Linked DNA regions of Homo sapiens: region 1 is linked to region 2. The links are contacts of gene promoters, found by promoter capture Hi-C in human tissues and cell types (Jung and others, 2019). All regions are on one chromosome and are shown on one strand. The core of a region is centred on a gene start or on the middle of the fragment in contact, and the rest is flanking DNA. Distances in the headings are between cores, read along the strand shown.

Region 1 (5,831 bases), core at 1,988-4,487, 200 kb before region 2:
CACATGTGCCTGTAGTCCCAACTACTCAGGAGGCTGAGGCAGGAGAATCGCTTGAACCCAGGAGTCAGAGCTTGCAGTGAGCCGAGGTCGCACCACTGCATGCCAGCCTGGTGACAGAGCAAGTCTCCGTCTCAAAAAAGAAAAAAAATTCCTTCCCCTTAACAAAACCCAACCACTAATAAAAACTACTTCACAGCACAACTATTAAAAAGACAAGACTTTAGAAAAATGATTTTTTCTTGGGTTTCAGGAAAACTAAGTGCTGTTATTTTCACTTAGTGATAAACCAACTCCTGAAAATTCTAGCCAATTTGTAGTAAATATTGAAATGCCTACTTTCATCAGTGATGGGGAAATTGAATGCTCCTGAGAGTATAAAATTCTAATATCAGTGTCTCACCAATTTGTTCAAGTATTGAAATACAATAAAGATATTTATACTGAAAGTTGTACCTTTGGTAAAAGATGCAACTGGCTCTCTTTTATTTCCATAATTCAGAACACCCTTCAAAATGTATCATCCCTCCCATTCATCTTCCTTATCATTAATACCACAAAATCCTGGATGTGGAAATTTTTTAAGCTCTTGTTTACTGAATGCCTGTATGTGCCAGCCTTGGTTTTATCTATTTAATGAACACTGTTTGACTTAATCATCTGAAGTTCTGAAAGGAAGGGCACACTTGCCCATTTTACAGATGCAGAGACTGGATTCAAGTGGAGAAACCTGTCCCGCTTTGCACAACTTGATGGTTTCTAATACAGCTTGTCAGGGTTCTAATCCAGGTCTGTCTACACACCATCTAGTTCCACTTTGTCTCTTTAGAATATTCTGGGTTTGCGCATGTTCTCACTCATAGGTGGGAATTGAACAATGAGAACACTTGGACACAGGGTGGGGAACATCACACACTGGGGCCTGTTGTGGGGTGGGGGGATGGGGGAGGGATAGCATTAGGAGAAATACCTAATGTAAATGACGAGTCAATGGGTGCAGCACACCAACATGGCACATGTATACATATGTAACAAACCTGCACGTTGTGCACATGTACCCTAGAACTTAAAGTATATATAAAAAAAGAATATGCTGGGTTTGGGGGTGAACCTCTTCCAATCCTGACATATCCTAGAATATGGATTTTTTTCTGTTATAGGGATTTGTTTGTTTTGATAAACTTTTATCAGCCTGCAAATCTGTCTCTCTTGCTCACTTACCTTTTGTTCTTACTTCTAATCTTTGTCTTTCTTAGGGTACCAAAGAATTATGGCTTGAACTTCCTGGCACCTGAGACTCTAGATGAATAGGTCATTGCTTAGGTCATGGCCGCCCACTGGTGACATGAAATATGATGAAGCCAAAGGCAGCTCCCTGCACTCATGGTATCTTCCAAGACCTCACCTTCCTCACAATAACAGCTGAGACAAACCCCAAGCTCCTGACATGAAATGCCCACCAAGGACCCATAGTATTTGCACAAATCAGAAAGGAGAAACTATACAGACAAGGAAAAGGGCCAGCCACAGTAGTTGTTAAAAAATGCTCATCTCACACCAGTTAGAATGGCAATCATTAAAAAGTCAGGAAACAACAGGTGCTGGAGAGGATGTGGAGAAATAGGAACACTTTTACACTGTTGGTGGGACTGTAAACTAGTTCAACCATTGTGGAAGTCAGTGTGGCGATTCCTCAGGGATCTAGAACTAGAAATACCATTTGACCCAGCCATCCCATTACTGGGTATATACCCAAAGGACTATAAATCATGCTGCTATAAAGACACATGCACACGTATGTTTATAGCGGCACTATTCACAATAGCAAAGACTTGGAACCAACCCAAATGTCCAACAATGATAGACTGGATTAAGAAAATGTGGCACATATACACCATGGAATACTATGCAGCCAAAAAAAAATGATGAGTTCATGTCCTTTGTAGGGACATGGATGAAATTGGAAATCATCATTCTCAGTAAGCTATCGCAAGGACAAAAAACCAAACACCGCATGTTCTCGCTCATAGGTGAGAATTGAACAATGAGTACACATGGACACAGGAAGGGGAACATCACACTCTGGGGACTGTTGTGGGGTGGGGGGAGGGGGGAGGGATAGCATTAGGAGATATACCTAATGCTAAATGACGAGTTAATGGGTGCAGCACACTAGCATGGCACATGTGTACATATGTAACTAACCTGCACATTGTGCACATGTACCCTAAAACTTAAAGTATAATAATAATAAAATTTTAAAAAAATGCGAATTGAAAAACTAAAAATAAAACATTTTGCCTATAAAAGTAGTAGAAATCTCATGAATAAGAGCTCCAAACACTGAAGAGGCTGTAATAAACTTTCATATTTTGCTTGTGGGAAAATAAATCGACACACTTTTTTTAGGAAACAATTTAGTCATATATAACGTATGATATATAATTTAAGAAACACTCACCTTTTGGACTGACAATTTTTTTAGGGGCGCTAACCAAACCAAATAATCCAAAGTTTTATGGCACATACATGTAAAAAAATAGAATAAAATACTAAGCACATGAAAACTGTTACTGTAAAATTGTGTGATTCAATTTTTAAAAAATTAAATGTACATATTATAAACACACATAAGAAAAAGAATAAAAAGAAAAAGAAAAGCTTTAAAACCCTTACAGTGACATTCTTTAAGTAATTGTATTATTCTTACTTCTTTTATTCTTAGGTTCTTATTTGACCTTTCTACATTTTAATTTTATAATCAAAAAAGAACTAAGCCATTAATGCCATGTTTATAAAGCACTTGTGATACCATGTAAATAGGTATGCTATTATATTAGTGAGGGAAGAAAACAGAAGGATACTAGGAATATGATTTCCATTTTTGTACTTAAAAAAAGGCATCAAAATTTTATAGTAAAATGGGTAACTACTTTTTTTCTACTTTTTTTTCCTTTTTTTGTTTTGAGACAGAGTCTCACTCTGTGGCCCAGGCTGGAGTGCAGAGGTGTGATCTCAGCTCACTGCAACCTCCGCCTCCCGGGTTCAAGCAGTTCTTCTGCCTCAGCCACTATTGTTTTCATTTGTCTAATACAGTGACACTATTTTCATAATTTCTTTAGAAACTTTATAATTTTGCAAAGTGGCTTTATTAACCATAAAGTAGCCGTACAAAGAAAACTAAAACTGCTAGATGGATGGGCTACCCGAGGAGCAGGAGCACTCTGACCTGAGGCCTCCTCCCTGTGCTTAAAAATAGAAACAAACAAAATCGTGTTAAGAAATGTTAGAAAGGTGTTAAAGACATGTTAGCACAAACTGAGCCTTTTTCCTCAACTTGATTAGAAAATTCCAGAGAAGGATGAAAAGAGAGTATTTTCCTTACCATGTGCACCTGTTTCCGGGAACCTCTAAAATCAACTGTCATCTCCACCCTGTAGGAGACACTGGCAGGGCCATTAGGCTGGGGACCATTTGCAATATGTGTACATCGGTCCAGCAAGTCCAGGCATCTGAAACTAAGTGTTCTCACCAGAGCTGAGCAAACAGGTTGCCTTTTCTCTCTTCCATCAGAATGCAGAATTTCCATCCCAAAGGGGAAATTGTTCTCCCACTAGGAGGGAAATGCAATACTGTGGAATGCAGTGAAACTGTCAGCAAGTTTTCTTTTTTGGTTGTGCCTTTGTCAGGTTTTGGTATTAAGATGATGCTTGGCTCATAGAATGAGTTAGGGGGGGAGTCCCTCCTCCTCAATTTTTTTGGAGTAGTTTCAGTAGGAATGGTAACAGCTCTTTTTATACGTCTGGTAGAATTCGGCTGTGAATCTGTCGGATCCTGGGCCTTTTCTGGTTGGTAGGCTTTTTATCATTGATTCAATTTCAGAACTCATTATTGGTCTATAAAATGGTTTGGCTGTGTCCCCACCCAAATCTCAACTTGAATTGTATCTCCCGGAATTCCCACATGTTGAGGGAGGGACCTAGGGGAGGTAATTGAATCATGGGGACCAATCTTTCCTGTGCTATTTGCATGATAGTGAATAAGTCTCATGAGATCTGATGGGATTATCAGGGGTTTCTGCTTTTGCTTCTTCCTCATTTTTCTCTTGCCACCACCATGTAAGAAGTGCCTTTCGCCTCCCACCGTGATTCTGAAGCCTCCCCAGCCATGTGGAACTGTAAGTCCAATTAAACCTCTTTTTGTTCCCAGTCTCAGGTATGTCTTTATCAGCAGCATGAGAAAAGACTAATACAGTAACTCGGTACCAATAGACTGGGATGTTGCTGTAAAGATATCCGAAAATGTGGAAGTGACTTTGGAACTGGGTAACAGGCAGAGATTGGAACAATTCGGAGGGCTCAGAAGAAGACAGGAAAATGTGGGAAAGTTTGGAACCTCCTACAGACTTGTTGAATGGCTTTGACAAAAATGCTGATAGTGATATGAACAATAAGGTCCAGGCTGAGGTGGTCTCAGATGGAGATGAGGAACTTGTTGGGAACTGGAACAAAGGTGACTCTTGTTAGTTTTAACAAAGAGACAGGCCGCATTTGGCCCCTGCCATAGATTTGTGGAACTTTGAACTTGAGAGAGATGATTTAGGGTATTTGGTGGAAGAAATTTCTAAGCAACAAAGCATGCAAAAGGTGATGTGGGTGCTGTTAAAAGCATTATATTTTAAAAGGGAAACAGCATAAAAGTTCAGAAAATTTGTAGTCTGATGATGCAGTAGAAAAGAAAAAACAATTTTTTGAGGAGAAATTCAAGCTGGCTGCAGAAATTTGCATAAGTAGAAAGGAGCCTAATGTTATCCCCAAGACCATGGGGAAAATGTCTCCAGACCATGTCAGAAACCTTCACAGCAGCTCCCCCCAACACAGGCTTAGAGGCCCAGGAGGAAAAAGTTGTTTTGTGGGCCAGGCCCAGGGTCCCCCTGCTGTGTGCAGCCTAGGGACTTGGGGCCCTGTGTCCCAGCTACTCCAGCTGTGGCTGAAAGGGGCCAACATAGAGCTCAGGCTGTGGCTTTGGAGGGTGGAAGCCCCAAGACTTGGCAGCTTCCATGTGGTGTTGAGCCTGCGGGTGCACAGAAGTCAAGAATTGAGGTTAGGGAACCTCCACTAGATTTCAGAAGATGTATGGAAATGCCTGGATGCCCAGGTAAAAGTTTGCTGCAGGGGTGGGGCCCTCATGGAGAACATCTGCTAGGGCAGTGCAAAAGGGAAAGGTGGGGTCAGAGCCCCCACACTGAGTCCCTACTGGGGCACTACCTAGTGGAGCTGTGAGAAGAGGGTCATTGCTGTCCTCCAGAACCCAGATTGGTAGATCCACCAACAGCTTGCACTTTGCGCCTGGAAAAGCCACAGACACTCAAGGCCAGCCCATGAAAGCAGCCAGGAGGGAGGCTGTAGCCTGCAAAGCCACAGGTGTGGAGCTGCCCAAGACCATGGGAATCCACCTCTTGCATCAACATCACCTGGATGTGAGACTTGGAGGCAAAGGAGATCATTTTGGAGCTTTAAAATTTGCCCTGCTGGATTTCAGACTTCCATGGGTCCTGTAACCCCTTTGTTTTGGCCAATTTCTCCCACATGGAATGGCTGTATTTACCCAATACCTGTACCCGCATTGTATCTAGGAAGTAACTAGCTTGCTTTCGATTTTACAGGCTCATAGGCGGAAGGGACTTGCCTTGTCTCAGATGAAACTTCAGACTGTGGACTTTGAGTTAATGCTGAAATGAGTTAAGACTTTGGGGGACTATTAGGAAGGCATGATTGGTTTTGAAATGTGAGGACATGAGGGGTGGAATGATATGGTATGGCTGTGTCCCCACC
Region 2 (6,041 bases), core at 2,005-4,504:
CCTGCGGAGTAGAGGGTGAACTTTACAAGAAATCTGTACATTTATCAAATAAGTTAAAATTCTGCTAAATTGATTGTCCTTCACTTAAAGCGCTCCAGTATGCCTAACTTACTCCTTTGAGCATCACTACCTAAGCTTGTTTCTTTCTTCCCCCCTTTCCCCTGCCTACTTTTTTCTTTCTAAATGAATGACCATGATTATACAGTGAAAAGGTCTGTTTCCCACGGTGGAGGAGGAAACAGCTTTCTCAGGAGATTTTGTACAATATTGCACAGGTCAACGTACAATAATTACTGCAGAACATGAAAAGTAAGAGGAGAGGATAAAAGATATCATATTAAAAATACTGAAATTACTCTCTCAAAACAGGGAACAAAGTAATAATAGTAATATTAATAATAATTTACAAATGAAATTCTCAAAATAAATGCTACTAATAAATAAGACCACTTAGACCAGGCCAGATATGGAGCTGTTTCAAATAGTCAGAGTTCTGATTTTTGGCTGTCTTTTCTCTTTAGACACTTAGAGAATTCTTCCATCACAAAGTAAGACCGATGAAGAGGCTAATTGCAACAGACCTCTCCAGAAGAGAAAAGCGGCCTGAGTCGGGATTCTTATGAGAGGCTGCTCATATTTTGAAAATTAAGGTGGATAACTGATTTGGGGGTTGGGAGGAAGAAACATACCCAGAAATCCAGAAATAAAAGTACTATCATATGAATTCTCTCCCTCTCTGGATTCTGAAAACAGTTCTATAGAAAAGGAATAAACTAGGCCGGGCGCAGTGGCTCACGCCTGTAATCCCAGCACTTTGGGAGGCCGAGGCGGGCGGATCACGAGGTCAGGAGCTCAAGACCAGCCTGGCCAACATGGTGAAACCGCGTCTCTACTAAAAATACAAAAATTAGCCGGACGTGGTGGCACACACCTGCAATCCCAGCTACTCGGGAGGCTGAGACAGGAGAATCACTTGAACCCGGGAGGCGGAGGTCGAAGTGAGCCGAGATCGCGCCACTGCACTCCAGCCTGGGCAATAGATAGAGCAAGATTCCGTCTCGGAAAAAAAAAAAAAAGCAGAAAAGAATAAACTAGAGGGATTTAGGTTTTGCGCTTATTTTCCTTCTATAAAAATAAAACCAAAAAGCCACCGCGCAATGGAAATTTGGAAGGGAGGGCTGCACATTTTACAAAAACTATCGGCCGAAATCTCTGACCCGAAAATTTTGTCTTGTTCCTGCTTTCTCTTAATATAAGCCAAAAACCAAAAGTAAGAGGGGAAGCGCCTCCAATCCATTAGGGATGAATTGCACGAAAATGCATTGCAAATACTTACAAAATGCTACCGACTGGGGGAGGGGAAGCAGAGGCTGCGCGCCCAAGCCCCAGTTCCTGAAGGCCGCTGGACTTCTCGGCGCCCTCGGCCCGGCCCAGTCTCCTCCGGGGTCCGGACAAGGAGGCCGGGCGCTCCCTCCCCCACCCCTCTGGGGCCTCAGACCGGCCGTAGCAGCGGCACGGAAGAGACCACCGGGTGCGAGTAGTAGACGGGGTGCGGGAAGGTGAGCAGCGGCTGGCTGACTGGCACCGGGGCCCCCGCGGCTGCAGCCGCCGCGCCCTCGGCCGCCGAGTTCTCGTGGTAGAGGATGGGCACCCGCACGATGCGCTGCGCCGCGGCATGGCTCAGGTTGGCCGCCTCCAGCTCCGCCGCCAGCTGCCGCTTCCACTTGTTGCGGCGGTTCTGGAACCAGATCTTGACCTGCGTCTCGGTGAGGTGCAGGGACGCGGCCAGGCCGGCTCGCTCCGAGCTGCTCAGATAGCGCTTCATGTCGAAGGTGGACTCGAGCTGGAAGACCTGGCTGCGCGAGAAGACTGTGCGCGTCTTCTTCTTGCGGCACGCCGGCTTCTTCTCTGGACTTTCAGCGCCCTTCTTCCAGTCTTCTGCGCCCGGAGTGGCCGCCGCCGCCCCTACGCTCGCCCCGGCCGCGCCTGGCGCCGCTTCGCCTTCCTTTTTGCTTTCCTCGGAGTCGCTCTCCTCCAGAATGATCTCGTCCGGGCTCTTGGAGTCCAGCTCCTTGTGATCGGGGTCGGCCTTGAGCAGTGGCTCCGGAGAGTCGCGGTCTGTGCCGGAGGCGGGGGAGGAGTCTCTCAGCAAGGCCTTCTCCGAGGCTGGGGAGACAGACAGACGGACGCACACACATGCACACCGACACAGCCTTGAGCGAGGCCCGGCGCCTGGGGACGGCAGGCTCAACCCGCGCCGGCCTCCAGGTCCCAGGCCATGAGGCCTCACCATTCCCGCGGGCTGCCTCCTTCTCGGCTGGGCCAGAGAAGGGACGCCGAGTCCTGGGATCCCCCTCCTCCCGAGGACAGGCAAGCAGATGGTGGTAGCGCGGCCACCTCCTTCCATTCCCTCAGCTTCCTCGCCAGGGGCCGGCAGAACGGTTCCCTTTCGGCTTAGGCGCATTGGAATCACCCCCTCCTTCCAGGCCGTGTCCCAAGCCCCGGCCGTCCGAAGCCTCCCTATTCACGCCCGAGGCCACTTTTCCCGGGAAGCACCGTGCCCGGGGCTCCAATTCCACTTCTTTTCTCACCAAGTGGGATTGGATTAACGGGCAGCGCAACCCAGCGCGAGGGCAGGCTAGGGGCCGAAAAAAACTGACCGAGCAGAGGGTTTGCGGGTGCTGGGGTCCCAGAACTGCGGAGGGAAGCAGCGCGGGGCGGGGACGGGGCGGGCGCGCAGGGGGACAACGAAAGTTCAAAGAGAGGTCGGTACCTTCAGGTCGCGGGAGGTGGCCGCCGGCGGGGGTCAGGGTGTAGGGGTACCACCAGGCTGGGGAGCGCTCCAGGTAGTGCGCGGGCAGGGCAAACCTCTGCGCCGGGATCTCAAAGCGAGGGAAAGCCAGGTCGCCCACCTGCGAGAGCGCGAAGCCCGCGGCGCCCTCCAGGGCCCCCTTGGCCGCCGCGGCAGCGGCAGCGGCGGCGGCGGCGGCAGCCGAGGCTGGCGCGAAGAGCGTCCGTGGGGGCGGCTGAGGCTTAGGGGGCGGCCGGTGGTGGTCTCCGTTGAGCAGGTTCTTGATGGAGAACGGGGACTCCTTGGGAGCGGGTGGGGGGGGCGGCGGCGGTTGGGGCTGTGCGCTGGCGGTGCCGGCAGCGTCCGGCCCGGGTTCCGGCATGGTCCCCTCTCCTCCGGGTCCCCGGGAGGGAGGGAGCGGGACAGGCGGGCGGCGGGGCGAGCAGGCGAGAGGCCGGAAATCAGACCATAAACGGAACTCAACTACGGGGCGCAAAGTCGGGGGCCGCCCCGGGCGCAAATCCAACGGCGGGAGGGCGGAGTGAGGACCCAGACGGGCGGGCTCGCATGAGGGAGGGGTGCGGAGGGGCGGGGAGCGGCCCTGCCGCGGCACCGAGGGATCGAGGCGGCTCGGCTGCGGCTGCGGCTCCCGCGGAGGAGGCAGCAAGAGCAGTCCCCGGCTCGAGGCTGCGTCAATCCGGCGCCGGATGCTAATGATGAAATCAAAATGTCATCCAAGTTAAATGCGGGGAGTATACGGCGATTGGGCGCGTACAATGGCAAATGGGATTAGGCAGGCGAAGGCTCAGCCGAGCCCCGGCCCCGCAGCCGCCTCCGCCACCGCCCCCTCCTCGCCTTCCCTCGGATTTTGGCGCTTTGGCTTCGGGCTATAAGAGCCCGCCCGTTATTGGCTTTATATAGTCCAATTAGGCAGCAAATGAGGACAAGCCTATTAGCACAAAAGGATATTGGCTCCCGCTAAAGAGGCACTCGGAGCGCTCCTGCGAGCGCAGGAGGCGAGCGAGGGACGCGGAGCAGGCGGCGCCCTTGGCCGAAGCGCACTAACGGCCGCGAGCCCGGAGACCGCGCCTGCCTCTCCCCCCTGCGGCGCAGGGACCCGCTTCCCGCCGCCAGGCCTGCGGGAGGGGGGAGGGGCGGACCAGGCCCTCCCGGGTCACCTCGGGGTTATCTGCGCTCGCAGCTGCCGCTCCCCCGCCCCCTGGGGCTGGACAGGGGCCCGCCGCCCCCACGCAGCTGGAGAGCCACGCAGCGCCGGCCCAAGAGGCAGGACGTGACCTCGGCCCTCGGAGAACTCATCATTTTCCTACCCTTTGGGGTCCGGCGACCTCGGTATTTTTCCTAAAGCCTGCTAGGAAGGGCGAGGCCAAGAAGAGAGGGATTTGGGTTCCCCACCCACCATCCAGCCGATAGTAAGGGAATCCAGGTGTAAGTCCTCGCACTGCGTCTTCGGACTCAGAAATCCGCGTGGCCTTGGCCTTTAGCCCTGGAAAACCGAAGAGTGAGCCTTCCCCCGGGACCAGGAGTGGGTGTGCCTGTGTGCGTATGCGCGCTGACCCGGCCAAAACCCGCGCGTCACTCGGTGGGGCTGCTGGGGCAACAGCTTCTCGGCACCGACGGCTGCTCTCGGAAGGGCACCCCTCTGCTCTGGCCGCCGGTGCCCAAGGCTCGCGGATCAACTCCGAGTCTGTGACCCCGACGACAGCACTTTCTCCCAGGAAGTCTCTCCGGCCAGCTGGCGTTTGGAGCTGTCTAACTAACGCTTTAATGGGGGCAAGGTGAACCGAAGGCGCAGCGGCGTAGCTTCCTCCGCCGCGGCAAGCAGCGGCATCCGCTGCGCGTCTCGACGGCAGCGAAGTCCTTAGAGAACCACACTGGACCTTTGCAGAACGGCTTAGTGAAAGGACATTCCACTCCACTGGCTTTAAAAACAGCTCCCCGGTTCGCACGAGAAGCCCATGAGGCAGACATTTAAGACTCATGATTTAAGCATCAAGTAAATCAGAATTGTTTGTGAGGTCCCCTCCCGAGAGACAGCTTTCTTATCAGAGAAAGGTGACAAACTGGCCTCACCCTCTTCCACCCTGGTGAAGCTCCCGCACACGAGGGCTTTTTGGGATCCCTTCACCTCCCCACCGCTTTCTTTTTCGTTAGATTGAGCCTCGCCTAATTCAAGGCCGCCCTGCATTGGCAGACGTGATCGTGTGGGGTCCCCACTTGAGAGGTAGATTTTGTTTTTCGGTCCTGGGGCGTCAGACCCTCCCCCACCAAATCTCGACGGGCATATGTAATGTTTCTTTCTGCATTCATCTACAGCAGCGAACCCCATTTTTGCTTTGGAAATCTGGAAACGTAAATGGCGCTTCCATAAACAATTACTGTTATTACTCCCTTGAGTTTACACAGGGCTTTACTGGAATGCAAAACGCTACGCCATCCAAAATCTGGGTTGGAACGGATCACTGCCCTGAGACCCCAGCAGGGTGGGTCTCATACTTGGATTTTGTAAGTGGAAACCCGCGCCCAGAGAGGAGGAAACTGGGCCTAGGTCGCCCAATCGCTGCTGGATACCCAGAGGTCATTTTCCCCCAACCGCAGAAATAGCTCGATGCACGTAGGTCTATGAGGGTTGGGTGGGCACCGCCTGCACACAGCCTGCCACGCGGCCGAGTATGCGTGGAGAGACCCCGGCGTGTATGCCTGTGTGTTTTGGGAGCTTCGCCATTCAGCGCAGACGCATGCAAACTTGGCTAGAGTTCTGACGCACGAAAGTCGACTTTAAACTGGGAATGCTGAGGGTTCAGTCTGGGGAGGGGGACTCGTGGCTGATCACAACTCCAGCGCTAGACTCAGATGGGGAGGGGACAGGCCCAGTGTGGCGGGAGAAGAGTCCGGGACAGCCGCCCGCATCCCTGCTGTGCGGCTACCGGATCCCGGCTTTCCGGTTGTCGCCCCAAGTTCTCCGGTTGACTCCCCTCCCAGGGGCGCGCAGGGGCGCTGTTATGTGCTTGTGTTTGGCCCGGGAGAGGAGCTTCTCCAGTGTCAGCACTCTCAGCCCATCCTCTCAGTTTTAGGGATTGCTGGGCTTGAAAAGCGGGATGTATTGAGTAGATCTTTCCCTTCCCCTTCGAGAAAGCTGGTGGGAGTCGGGTCTGGGCGCGGACTCAGCCCTTTACTCGCCGTCTGGCGAGAGGTGTTGCCAGCGTTCTTGCGCTCACGACTCCATTCAAAG

Evidence for each region. Contacts are between HindIII fragments. The study calls those that stand out against the background at their distance.
Region 1: a fragment that was not itself captured here is called in contact with the fragment with the promoter of HMX3 in region 2 in 1 of the 25 tissues and cell types used here (lymphoblastoid cells).

The regions. Positions count from the first base shown.
Region 1 is chr10:123,336,593-123,342,423 of GRCh38, reverse strand. No RefSeq gene overlaps it. Among named protein-coding and RNA genes, the nearest start is that of LINC02641, 8.4 kb to the left of the region's middle. The HindIII fragment of the contact is 5,290 bases long and covers 593-5,831 here.
Region 2 is chr10:123,133,183-123,139,223 of GRCh38, reverse strand. It overlaps HMX3 (H6 family homeobox 3), which reads right to left and starts at 3,254. Exons shown (of 2, transcript NM_001105574.2): 1 at 2,774-3,254; 2 at 1-2,166. The coding sequence starts at 3,173. The coding sequence ends at 1,493. RefSeq lists enhancers at 942-1,906, 3,089-4,039, 5,917-6,041 and silencers at 2,826-2,875, 2,886-3,295, 3,346-3,425, 3,806-3,935, 3,966-4,085 and 1 more. The HindIII fragment of the contact is 9,325 bases long and covers 1-6,041 here.